Linked DNA regions of Homo sapiens: all the other regions are linked to region 1. The links are contacts of gene promoters, found by promoter capture Hi-C in blood cells and fetal thymus (Javierre and others, 2016). All regions are on one chromosome and are shown on one strand. The core of a region is centred on a gene start or on the middle of the fragment in contact, and the rest is flanking DNA. Distances in the headings are between cores, read along the strand shown. Region 1 holds the start of NPC1L1 (NPC1 like intracellular cholesterol transporter 1). Region 2 has its middle 92 kb from the start of RAMP3. Region 3 overlaps RAMP3 (receptor activity modifying protein 3). Region 4 has its middle 32 kb from the start of UBE2D4.

Region 1 (2,551 bases), core at 18-2,517:
TCCTTGTTTCAGGATCTGTTTCTGGAGGAACTAGATGACAACACCGGGAACAGAGGACCTAGAGAGGCAGCTTCATGGGTGGTGGGGTGTCCGCCTCTGCCGGCCAGGGACTTGGGAGCAGTGCTGGGAAGGTGCTGGATGGAGCTGTCACTCACAGGGGCAGGTCCTTGGCTGCTGACTGTCTTCCTCTCCACTATGGCTGTCTTGAGAACTTAGGGGTCAGCCTGACCCTGCCTTGGCCCCCTTCCTCTCAGCCTCTGTCTTCTCCTGCATGAGGCTGGGTGGCTCCCCTGTGAATCAGGCAGGGGTCCACAGAACACTAGAGACAGGTCCCTTCCTGCAGCTGTCTCCAGTAGGTGGCCACGCAGGAGATGTTCCCAACAAGCTGCCCTTATCTGCAGCTCAGCTTTGGTAATGGGGGCCCATTACCAAATGGGGGTAAAGGTCATGGCCCATCCTGGTGATAGTGAGAACCCAAGGTAGGCCTTGAAGATTCCTATCAGGAGGGAGCAGAAAGTGTGTACCACACCCCTGGGCCCAGGTGGAGCAGGGCTGCTGCTCAAGGCTCCCAGCCATGCTCTGTCCCTTGCTAGGGGTGACCGGTGGGACAGGCCTGGGCAAGGGACAAGAGGGAGAAGGTCGGGGGGAAGAGGGGATGAAGAGCAAAGTGAGCAAAGGAGAGTCTTCCACTATCTGGGGTCTCTGTCAACTGTCAGGCCCTAGAGTGAGCTGTTCTTTCCCTTTGCTTCCTGGAGGAGGGGACTTTTGTCACTGCGTCACTCCACCCTGCCTGCCCCTCCGTTATCAGGCTGTTAATATTAATTAACAACAGTTGCTAGGGATGACAGTGCAGAGGGTTCCTCTGAGCCCATTGCTGGCCCTGGTCCCAAGAGGGGGTAGGGCAGAGCTGGGGTCTGAGGCTGAGCCAGGGAGGGTGCGGAGGTTCCTCGGCCATGCTGAGCTCCTGAGGCCGGGTCCCAGCCAGTGCCTGGTCCCATCTGTGCCTCCAGGCCCTGGCACCAACTCCAGCAGTGTTAGGGGCTAATAGCGTGGTCTCTCCCCTAGCTGACTCAGCCCTCTGGCTTCGGTCGCTTTGGGAAGTGAGTGGAGACCCTAGCACCTGCGTGATGAGGCTCATCTAAAGCGGGGGCCTGTGGACTGGGGCCAAACAGTGGGAGTGGTGGATCATTAACCAGCAGGGCTCAGCCTCATTGGTCCCTAACCCAGTCAGGCCAGGGTTGTCATCGAAGGGGAGGAGGCTGCCTTAATGTGTGTTCAGCCCTTGGCTGTTCCTGAGGCCTGGCCTGGCTCCCCGCTGACCCCTTCCCAGACCTGGGATGGCGGAGGCCGGCCTGAGGGGCTGGCTGCTGTGGGCCCTGCTCCTGCGCTTGGTGAGTCCCAGGGCTTGGCTCCACCTCCCCTGCGGCCTCCAGTTAGGGACCCTGGGGCCAGCCGTGTACCAGGCGAGCGTTACTGGGTGACAGCAAGGGAGCCTCAGGGCCTGCGGGCTGGGCAAGTCTCTGGACACATGAGGGATGCCAGGCCCCACAGAGGAGGGGTGCAGGTGGAGGGTTTCCAGGTTACAGGCTTGAATGCACACAGGGGTGAAAGAGGCTGCTGGACTGGGGTGCTCCAAGTCCCTCCTGTCACTGGCCCTACTGTGGGGTCCAGGCCTGCAGTTGAGGGAGGTCTGAGGCAAGGAGGTGCTGGGATGGGGTTACCTGGTGAGCATCACCTAGGGAGGACTGAGCACTCTGGAGGCTGGGAGAAGATCCAGCGCTGGCACCTCTTAAGTTCCTCGCTTACTTTGTGTCTGGGAGGTGGGTGACAGCTTTTGGCCTCAAGCAGGTGGTGGTAGTGGTGGTGGGAGTCGGGGGGCCTCCTGAACAGACTCTCCATGAGAGACCCTGGCCTCTGGATGTGGTGTACAGTGTGGGGACTCAGGCTGACTTTGACGTGGGCAGAGCCCGGGACCTTGGAGTCAGCTTTGCCTCCTTACCCATCTCTGGCCTCTCCAGCATGACTTTCCTAAGCTGCAGGTCTATCAGGCCACCCCCAGGAAGAAAGGCCAGTGTTGTCACTCCAACACTGGCTGGCTGGCACATGCCTCCAGGAGGCTTCCTACTCCCCACACTCCCCGCTTCCCTGCCCCTGCTCCATGTCCTTCTTACCCTCACACCCTCCCTGGCTGCCTGCTGCCTGGATGGCACCCAGCTGTGTCAGGGCCCACGCGTGATGTTGCTGTGCTCTGCAGGCCCAGAGTGAGCCTTACACAACCATCCACCAGCCTGGCTACTGCGCCTTCTATGACGAATGTGGGAAGAACCCAGAGCTGTCTGGAAGCCTCATGACACTCTCCAACGTGTCCTGCCTGTCCAACACGCCGGCCCGCAAGATCACAGGTGATCACCTGATCCTATTACAGAAGATCTGCCCCCGCCTCTACACCGGCCCCAACACCCAAGCCTGCTGCTCCGCCAAGCAGCTGGTATCACTGGAAGCGAGTCTGTCGATCACCAAGGCCCTCCTCACCCGCTGCCCAGCCTGCTCT
Region 2 (2,551 bases), core at 32-2,531, 710 kb before region 1:
CACAAGGAACTACTAGGTGCTTTACATGCATTATCTTATTTAATAAGACCATATCATGTATTATTACGACAATAATAGTCATCATTTGTTAAGAGCTTACCTCTAACCACAATCATCAAGCAACCCTTCAATCCTGTGGACCTGATGATCCCCAGGCTCAGAAAATTGTGTCCCAAAGCAAAAAAGTAGGAAATGGCTCAGCTGAAATGTGAATGCATATTTCTAACTTCAAAGCTTTTTCTTCCACGACTCATTGAACTATCACATTAGCTTTCCTTCTCTTCTGAACAACTTTTTGATTTGAACTTCTTTTGAACAGCATTTATTATTCAAGTATTTTTCCAAATATGTTCTTATCTTTTCCTTTCCTTAATGATTTCTTTTGAAGCAAAAAAGTTAAGACGAAGTCCAATTTATAGTTTTTGTTCCTTTACAAACTGTGCTTTTGGTGTTATATCTAAGATATCTTTGCCTAACCCAAGGTCTCAAAGATTTTCTCTTAGGTTTTCTTCAAGATTTTTATTTTATTAACCCTTAAAGTCTATGATACATTTTGAGTTATTTTGGTATACAGTAATGAAAGAATCTAAGTTTATCTTGGCTGGCAACTTCAATAATGTTTCATAATTTTCAGTATACAATTTTTGTACTTCTTTTGATAAATTTATTCTTACTTATGTTATTCTTTTTGATGCTATTGTAAGAGGTATTGTATTCTTACTTTCATTTTCAGGTTATTTGTAAATAAAAATACAATTGGTTTTTTTTTTTTTCTTTTGAGATGGAGTCTCACTCTGTCACCAGGCTGGAGTGCGGTGGTGCCATTTTGGCTCACTGCAACCTCCACCTCCTGGGTTCAGGCAAAATACAATTGATTTTTATAAACTGATCTTGTATAGTACATCCTTGTTATACTTGATCATTAGTTCTAACAGCCTGTATGTGTGTATATTTGTGTGTGTGTATATTCTTTAGGATTTTCTACATGCAAGATTATGTCTTCTGCAAACACAGTCAGTTTTACTTCTTGCTTTCAAATGTAGATACCTTTCATTTCTTTTCTTTTTTTTTTTGCCTGATTGATCTGGCTAGAACCTCCAGCAAGTTTTGAAAAGAAGTGGCAAGTGTACACATCTTCGCCTGCTATGAGTTTAGGTTTTTTTGTAGATGACTTCTATCAGGCTGAGGAAATTCCCTTCTTTTCCAAGTTTATGGAGAGTATTTTGTCATGAATGGACGTTGGATTTTGTCAAATACTTTTTCTGCATCTATTGAAGTGACCATGTGGCATTTGTCCTTTCTTCTATTAATATTAGTTGATTTTTTGAATGTTAAATCGACTTTGTAGTCCTAGGATAAATCCCTCTTGGTCATAGTGTCTAACCATTTTTAGATTTTGCTGGATTTAGTTTGCTAGTATTTCGTTGATAATTTTTGCATCTATATTCGTAAGAGATGTGGGTTTGTAGTTTCGTTTTTTTGTTGTTGTTGTTGTGGTATGTTTGACTGACTTTTGTATCAGGGCCTCATACAGTCAGTTGGGAACTGTTACTCTTTTTTCTATTTTCTAGACTAGTTTGTGAAGAATTGTTGTCAATTCTTCTTTAAGTGTTTAGTAGAACTTACCAATGAAGCCATATGGGCCTGGGCTTTTTCTGTGAGAAGTTTATAAATTACTAATTTAAGTTACTAATTAAATATTTTTACTTCTCATAGTTCTATTCAGATTTTTAATTTCTCCTTGAGTCAGTTTTAGTAATATGTGTCTGTCTAGTAATTCATCCATTTCATCTATGTTGTTGAATTTATTGGCATAAAGTTATTTTTAGTATTCCCTTTTAATCCTCTACTTTCTGAAAGATCAATAGTAATACCACTTTTTCATTATTAATTTTGATGATCTGTGTCTCCTCTTCCTCTTTTTCAATAATAAAAAGGTTAGCCAATTTTGTTGATCTTCTCAAAAAACCAACTTTTGGATTTACTGATTTTCTCCATATTTTTTCTATGTCTATGTCATTGGTTTCAGTTCTAATCTTAATTATTTAGTTTTCTCTTATTTTTAGGATTCTTGAATAAAATCCTAGGTTGTTGATTTGGGATTTTTATTCTTTTCTAATATTTCTTAAATTTTCCTTTGTTATCTTTACTAAATATTTAAGTCATTTTCTTGGCACTAGCTTTGAGGATTACATTACATATTTTAACTTAATCTTAACTTTATTGCAATAGTATAGAGAAACTTGACTTCAGTATAGTATCTTCTCTCCCCACTCCTTTGTGCTATAATTGTCATATAAATTACAACTTTATACACTAAAAGCTTATAACACCATTTTGCAATTGTTTTTTTCAGTTGTCATTTAAAATCAGTTAGGGGAAGAAAAGAGTTTAAAAATATATCTTTATACTATCTTTTGTCTTTTATCTTTTACCTGTACAATAACCTTTGCTGGTTTATTTCTTCATGTGGATCTGAGTTGCTAGTCTAGTGTCCTCTCTTTTCAATCTGAAAGACTCTCATTATATTTCTTATAAGTCATGTCCCCAA
Region 3 (2,551 bases), core at 33-2,532, 620 kb before region 1:
TGGTCTGCCAAGCAGGGCTGCATCCAAGGCTCACCTCCTTGCCCTGAGGGCTCCTGGCTGGAGTGGCCCCACTTAGCCCTGGTCCCCGATCCCCACCTTCCTTTCCTTCTCTCCCAGTGGGCACTTCCAAGCTCCATGTCAAGCCTGGGCTCTGCAACAGATTCTGGAGTACAGGTCGGCATTGATCCTGGGAAGGGCCTGAAAAACATCATGCCTCCTTCACCACCTCCCTCAGTTTAGAGATGGGACGATGGAGGCCCAAAAGAAAGCGACTTTCCCAAGGCCTCCCTCTGCCACCCTGCTCAACTGCACCTGCCTGCAGGTGAAAAGACAGCCCTGGCATAAGTGACCAAGGGGTGCAAGCCCCAGGGACCACGTGGAGTCACACGAGGACTAAGGCGGCCTGTGCACCTTCACCCTAAAGCTGCCCCTGCCTTGGACTCTGAAGGTTCGCCTAGCTGCTCTCCACATCCAGCTCCTGTCCTCACCCCTGGGTCTGGCGTCACTCCCTAACAGATTCTCTCAGCACCCTTGGGTGGGTCTCCTGAGCTCCGCCCACCATCCCAATGGGCACGAGCCAGGCTAGCCCCACCCTGTCCCTCCTGGCCAGTGCCCACACCTGCAGCCTGGTCCACCTGGACCCCTAGGTCTGAATCTGAACCCCTAGACCTGGACCACTTGGCCTGGTCCCCCCTCAGCCTACTCTGACTGTCACCTATCAGGCCACCGAGACCCAGCCCAGTTCTTCTTCCTCCTCTGCCTCCCCCTCCTTCCCCTTCTTCCTCTCTTCCTCCTTCCCCTGTCCTTCTTTACCCTCCTCCCCCTCCCCTGTTTCCTCTCCTCTCCTTCCTTCCTCCTCTTCTTGGAAGTCAGAATGAATCTGAACCACTGCCTTCTCCTCCCCAGCCCTTTCCTGGAGGTATTTGCCGCAGCCAGCCCAAGTCATGGCTGTTCCTACAGCCCACCTCCCTACACAGGGCCTGTGTCTGCCACATTTTCACATTAACTATGATGCTCTGAAACACAGCTCAGGGACAAGGTCCTGATAAGTATTCATTACCCTCAGGCAACTATTATTCTCCCTGAGCCCCTGATCTCCCTCACTGAGCCAGGCAAAGACAGCATCAATTCCCCACCACCCCCAGTGCCAGGGCATTGCCCAGCCCCTCCCCCACGGCTCTACAAATACCCACCCAGGTCGCACAGCTATCTAAAAAGAGAAGGAGGGGTCCCTGACAACATGCCCCTCCCTGAATCTCTGCATGCCCCAAATCTCTACATACTCCATAATCTTCACATGCCCCATCGCAAGGACCTGGCTCAGGCAGATTGTAAATGTGCCTTTGAGGACCACATGCCATCCTCAGGCAGGTGTTCTGGGATAACTCCTCTACCCACGGAGGTGCTATGAGGATGCCTGTGACAGCACCAGCCCTGGGCCTGCACAAGGCAGGCACCCTGAGAAACCAAGTGCCCTCCCCAGGGAGCTCATTTCTAGTGCACATGAGGCTTGAGGGGCTCCCAGCAAAACCTGACAACCCACCCAATGTTAGAACAATGGTGTAAAGACAGATTCCTGGCAACACCACAAAAGAGGGCCATTGCCAATCAAGCTACTGGCTGCATTAGTAAAGGTCGCAGGAACTGAATCAAAATAGAAATCCATTTTGGTTGGTTTCATTGGGAAACAAAGAACATGCCGGCCTGTGTTTCTTTTGTCTCAGGGACTTCCAGACGCCACTGAGAGATGATAAACAGCCAAACAGATGCATTTCCGCCAGAAAGGGCTTTTGTGGCTAGTCATTTGGAAATGAAACACAGGCGCTCTCCCCCTCCTTGACAGAAAGAGCATCGACGAGACTGGCAAGTGGCTGCCATGGGCCACGGTCAGTCGACCTTGGGAGGCTGTGGATTCTGGGCGGTTCTGCCCCTGGTCTCTGTGGTTGGGCAACTTCCTCTCTAACCTCCAGATTTCTGTTTCCTTATGAAGAATAGGTAAGAGCATGGAGGTCAGATAACCTCCAAGGAACCTCCAGTGCCAAAAATCTATGGGCCTCTTCTTGGCCAATCACCACCTTCAAGTCTTTTTTTTTTTTTTTTTTTTTTTTTTTTTTTTTTTTTTTTTGAGGCAGAGTCTCGCTTTGTCACCAGGCTGGAGTGCAATAGCATGATCTCGGCTCACTGCAATCTCCGCCTTCCAGGTTCAAGCGATTCCTCTGCCTCAGCCTCCTGAGTAGCTGAGACTACAGGTATGCACCACCACACCCGGCTAATATTTTGTATTTTTAGTAGAGACGGAGTTTCACCATGTTGGCCAGGATGGTCTCGATCTCCTGACCTCGAGATCTGCCCGCCTTGGCCTCCCAAAGTGCTGGGATTACAGGCGTGAGCCACCGCACCCGGCCGGCCACCTCCAAGTCTTTAATTCACCAGAGTTACTGCTATCCAACCATGGCCCTTGGGCCCACTTGATTCAGTAGAATCAATATGACCACAGGTAACATGGCAGCAGGACATCATTTAATGATAAAAACGATGGTACCATGTTCAT
Region 4 (2,551 bases), core at 37-2,536, 580 kb after region 1:
TAGGTTCCACAATAGTGATGTTATTTACAGGAGTTATTGGGGGAAGTTGTAAATCTTGTGACCTTTGGAATAATGGCAGTAATCATTTAACTACAAATTCAGGCCCCTCTCATCCTTCTAACCTGGTGGCCTTTCATTAGTGTTACAGAGGCAGTTTAGGTTTGTGTGTTTTTTTTGTTTTTTGTTTTTTTGAGATGGAGTTTTGCTCTGGTTGCCCAGGCTGGAGTGCAATGGCACAATCTTGGCTCACTGCAGCCTCCGCCTTCTGGGTTCAAGTGATTCTCCTGCCTCAGCCTCCTGAGTAGCTGGGATTACAGGCATGCGCCACCACACCTGGCTAATTTTGTATTTTTAGTAGAGATGGGGTTTCTCTATGTTGATCAGCTGGTCTCGAACTCCTGAACTCGTGATCCGCCTGCCTCGACCTTCCAAAGTGCTGGGATTACAGGCGTGAGCCACCGCGCCCGGCACTAATTTTTTTTTTTTTTTTTTTTTTGAGACAGAGTCTCATTCTGTCACCCAGGCTGGAGTGCAGTGGCACAATTTTGGCTCTGCCCCCCCAGGTTCAAGCGATTCTCCTACCTCAGCCTCCCGAGTAGCTGGGATTACAGGCGCACGCCACCACACCCAGCTAATTTTTGTATCTTTTTCGTTTTTTTGTTTTTTGTTTTTTTTTTGAGCCAGAGTCTTGCTCTGTTGCCCAGGCTGGAGTGCAGCGGTGCAATCTTGGCTCACTGCAACCTCCGCCTCCCAGATTCAAGAGAGTCTCCTGCCTCAGCCTCCCGAGTAGCTAGGACTACAGGCACACACCACCACACCCAGCTAATTTTTTGTATTTTTAGTAGAGATGGGGTTTCAGTGTGTTGCCCAGGCTGGTGTCGAACACCTGAGCTCAGGTGATCCGCCCACCGTGGCCTCCCAAAGTGGTGGGATGACAGGTGTGAGCCACCATGCCTGGCCCGTTAATTTTTGTATTTTTAGTAGAGATGGGGGTGTTGCTATGTTGGCCAGGCTGGTCTTGAACTCATGACCTCAAGTGATCTGCCCTCCTTGGCCTCCTGAAGTGCTGGGATTACAGGTGTGAGCCACCTCACTCAGCCTCTTCTTAATTTCTTCACTGTCCCCTTGATCTTTCAGGATGGTGTTGTTTAATTTTCATGTATTTGTACAGTTTCCAGAGTTCCTTGTGTTACTTACTTCTAGTGCTTTTTGTTTTTTTAATTTAGAAAGAACAGAAATTTGTTTCTCACAGTTCTGGAGGCTGCAACATACTGCTTTTTATTCCATTGTGGTCTAATAAGATACTTGATAGGATTTTGATTCTTAAATATTTGTTGAGATTTATTTTGTGGCCTAACATATGGGCTATCCTGGAGAATGTTCCATGTGCTGATGAGAATATGTATTCTGCAGCTGTTGAATGAAATAGTCTGTAAATGTCTCTTAGATTCATTGGTCTATAGCGTATTTTAAGTCTCATGCCTCTATGTTGATTTTCTAGACCATAATCTGTCCAATGCTGAAAGTAGGTGCTGAAGTCCCCAACTTATTGTACTGGGGTCTATCTCTCTCTTTATCTCTAGTAATATTTATTTTATATATCTGGGTGCTCCAGTGTTGAGTGCATATATATTTACAATTGTTATATCCTCTAGCTGAATTGATCCCTTTATCATTATATAATGACCTTTTCTCTTTTTGTTTTTTGACTGACTTAAAGTCTATTTTGTCTGATATAAGTATAGCTAGTCCTGCATGCTTTTAGTTTACATTTGAGTGGAATATCTTTTTTCATCCCATCACTTAGTCTGTATGCATCTTTTTAGTGAGTTCCTTATAGGCAGCATATAGCTGGATCTTGTTTTTGTTAAATTCATTTTACAAAATTTATTTTAGAGACAAGGTCTTGTTTTGTCACACAGGTTGTAGTGCAGTGGCAATCATAACTCAGCTGCAGCCTTCAACTCCTGAACTCAAACAACCCTCATGTCTTAGCCTCCCGAGTAGCTGGGACTACAGGCACATGCCACGAGGCCCAGCTTTTTTTTTTTTTTTTTAGAGCTAGTGGTCTTGCTCTGTTGCCCAGGCTGGTATTGAACTCAAGCGACATCCTCCTGCCTCAGCTTCCCAAAGCATGGGGATTACAGTTGTGAGTCACCATGCCTCGCCTGGATCTTGTTTTTCTAACCCACTCAGCAAGGGTATTATGTGTGTGTATATATATATTTTTTTAATTGTATTTTTTTGGAGATAGAGTCTCACTCTGTCACCCAAGCTGGAGTGCAGTGGCATGATCTTGGCTCACTGCAACCTCCACCTCCCGGGTTCAAGTGATTCTCCTGCCTCAGCCTCCTGAGTAGCTGAGATTACAGGCATGTGGCACCATGCCCGGCTAAACAAGGCTATATATTTTAATTGGGAAGTTTGAACTCTTTACATTCAAGGTTGTTATTGATGAGTGAGGACTTATTCCTGTCATTTTGTTAATTGGTTTCTGATGTTTTATATGTCCTTTGTTACTTTCTTCCTCTTGAAAAATTTTTTTCCTTTC

Evidence for each region. The method cuts DNA at HindIII sites, captures the fragments that hold promoters and counts their contacts. A CHiCAGO score of 5 or more calls a contact.
Region 2: a fragment that was not itself captured here is called in contact with the fragment with the promoter of NPC1L1 in region 1 in 1 of 17 cell types (monocytes); the score reaches 5.4 in monocytes.
Region 3: a fragment that was not itself captured here is called in contact with the fragment with the promoter of NPC1L1 in region 1 in 1 of 17 cell types (naive CD8 T cells); the score reaches 5.7 in naive CD8 T cells.
Region 4: a contact is called between a fragment that was not itself captured here and the fragment with the promoter of NPC1L1 in region 1, in 1 of 17 cell types (naive B cells). The highest score is 5.2, in naive B cells.

What each region holds. Positions count from the first base shown.
Region 1 is chr7:44,540,046-44,542,596 of GRCh38, reverse strand. NPC1L1 (NPC1 like intracellular cholesterol transporter 1) reads left to right here and starts at 1,267. Exons shown (of 19, transcript NM_001101648.2): 1 at 1,267-1,391; 2 at 2,255-2,551. The coding sequence starts at 1,338. RefSeq lists an enhancer at 1,974-2,551. The HindIII fragment of the contact is 6,836 bases long and covers 1-2,551 here.
Region 2 is chr7:45,248,256-45,250,806 of GRCh38, reverse strand. No RefSeq gene overlaps it. Among named protein-coding and RNA genes, the nearest start is that of RAMP3, 92 kb to the right of the region's middle. The HindIII fragment of the contact is 2,089 bases long and covers 237-2,325 here.
Region 3 is chr7:45,159,905-45,162,455 of GRCh38, reverse strand. All of the region lies in intron 1 of RAMP3 (receptor activity modifying protein 3), which reads right to left. Among named protein-coding and RNA genes, the nearest start is that of RAMP3, 3.4 kb to the right of the region's middle. The HindIII fragment of the contact is 5,307 bases long and covers 1-2,551 here.
Region 4 is chr7:43,956,736-43,959,286 of GRCh38, reverse strand. It overlaps the pseudogene POLR2J4. Among named protein-coding and RNA genes, the nearest start is that of UBE2D4, 32 kb to the right of the region's middle. The HindIII fragment of the contact is 6,737 bases long and covers 1-2,551 here.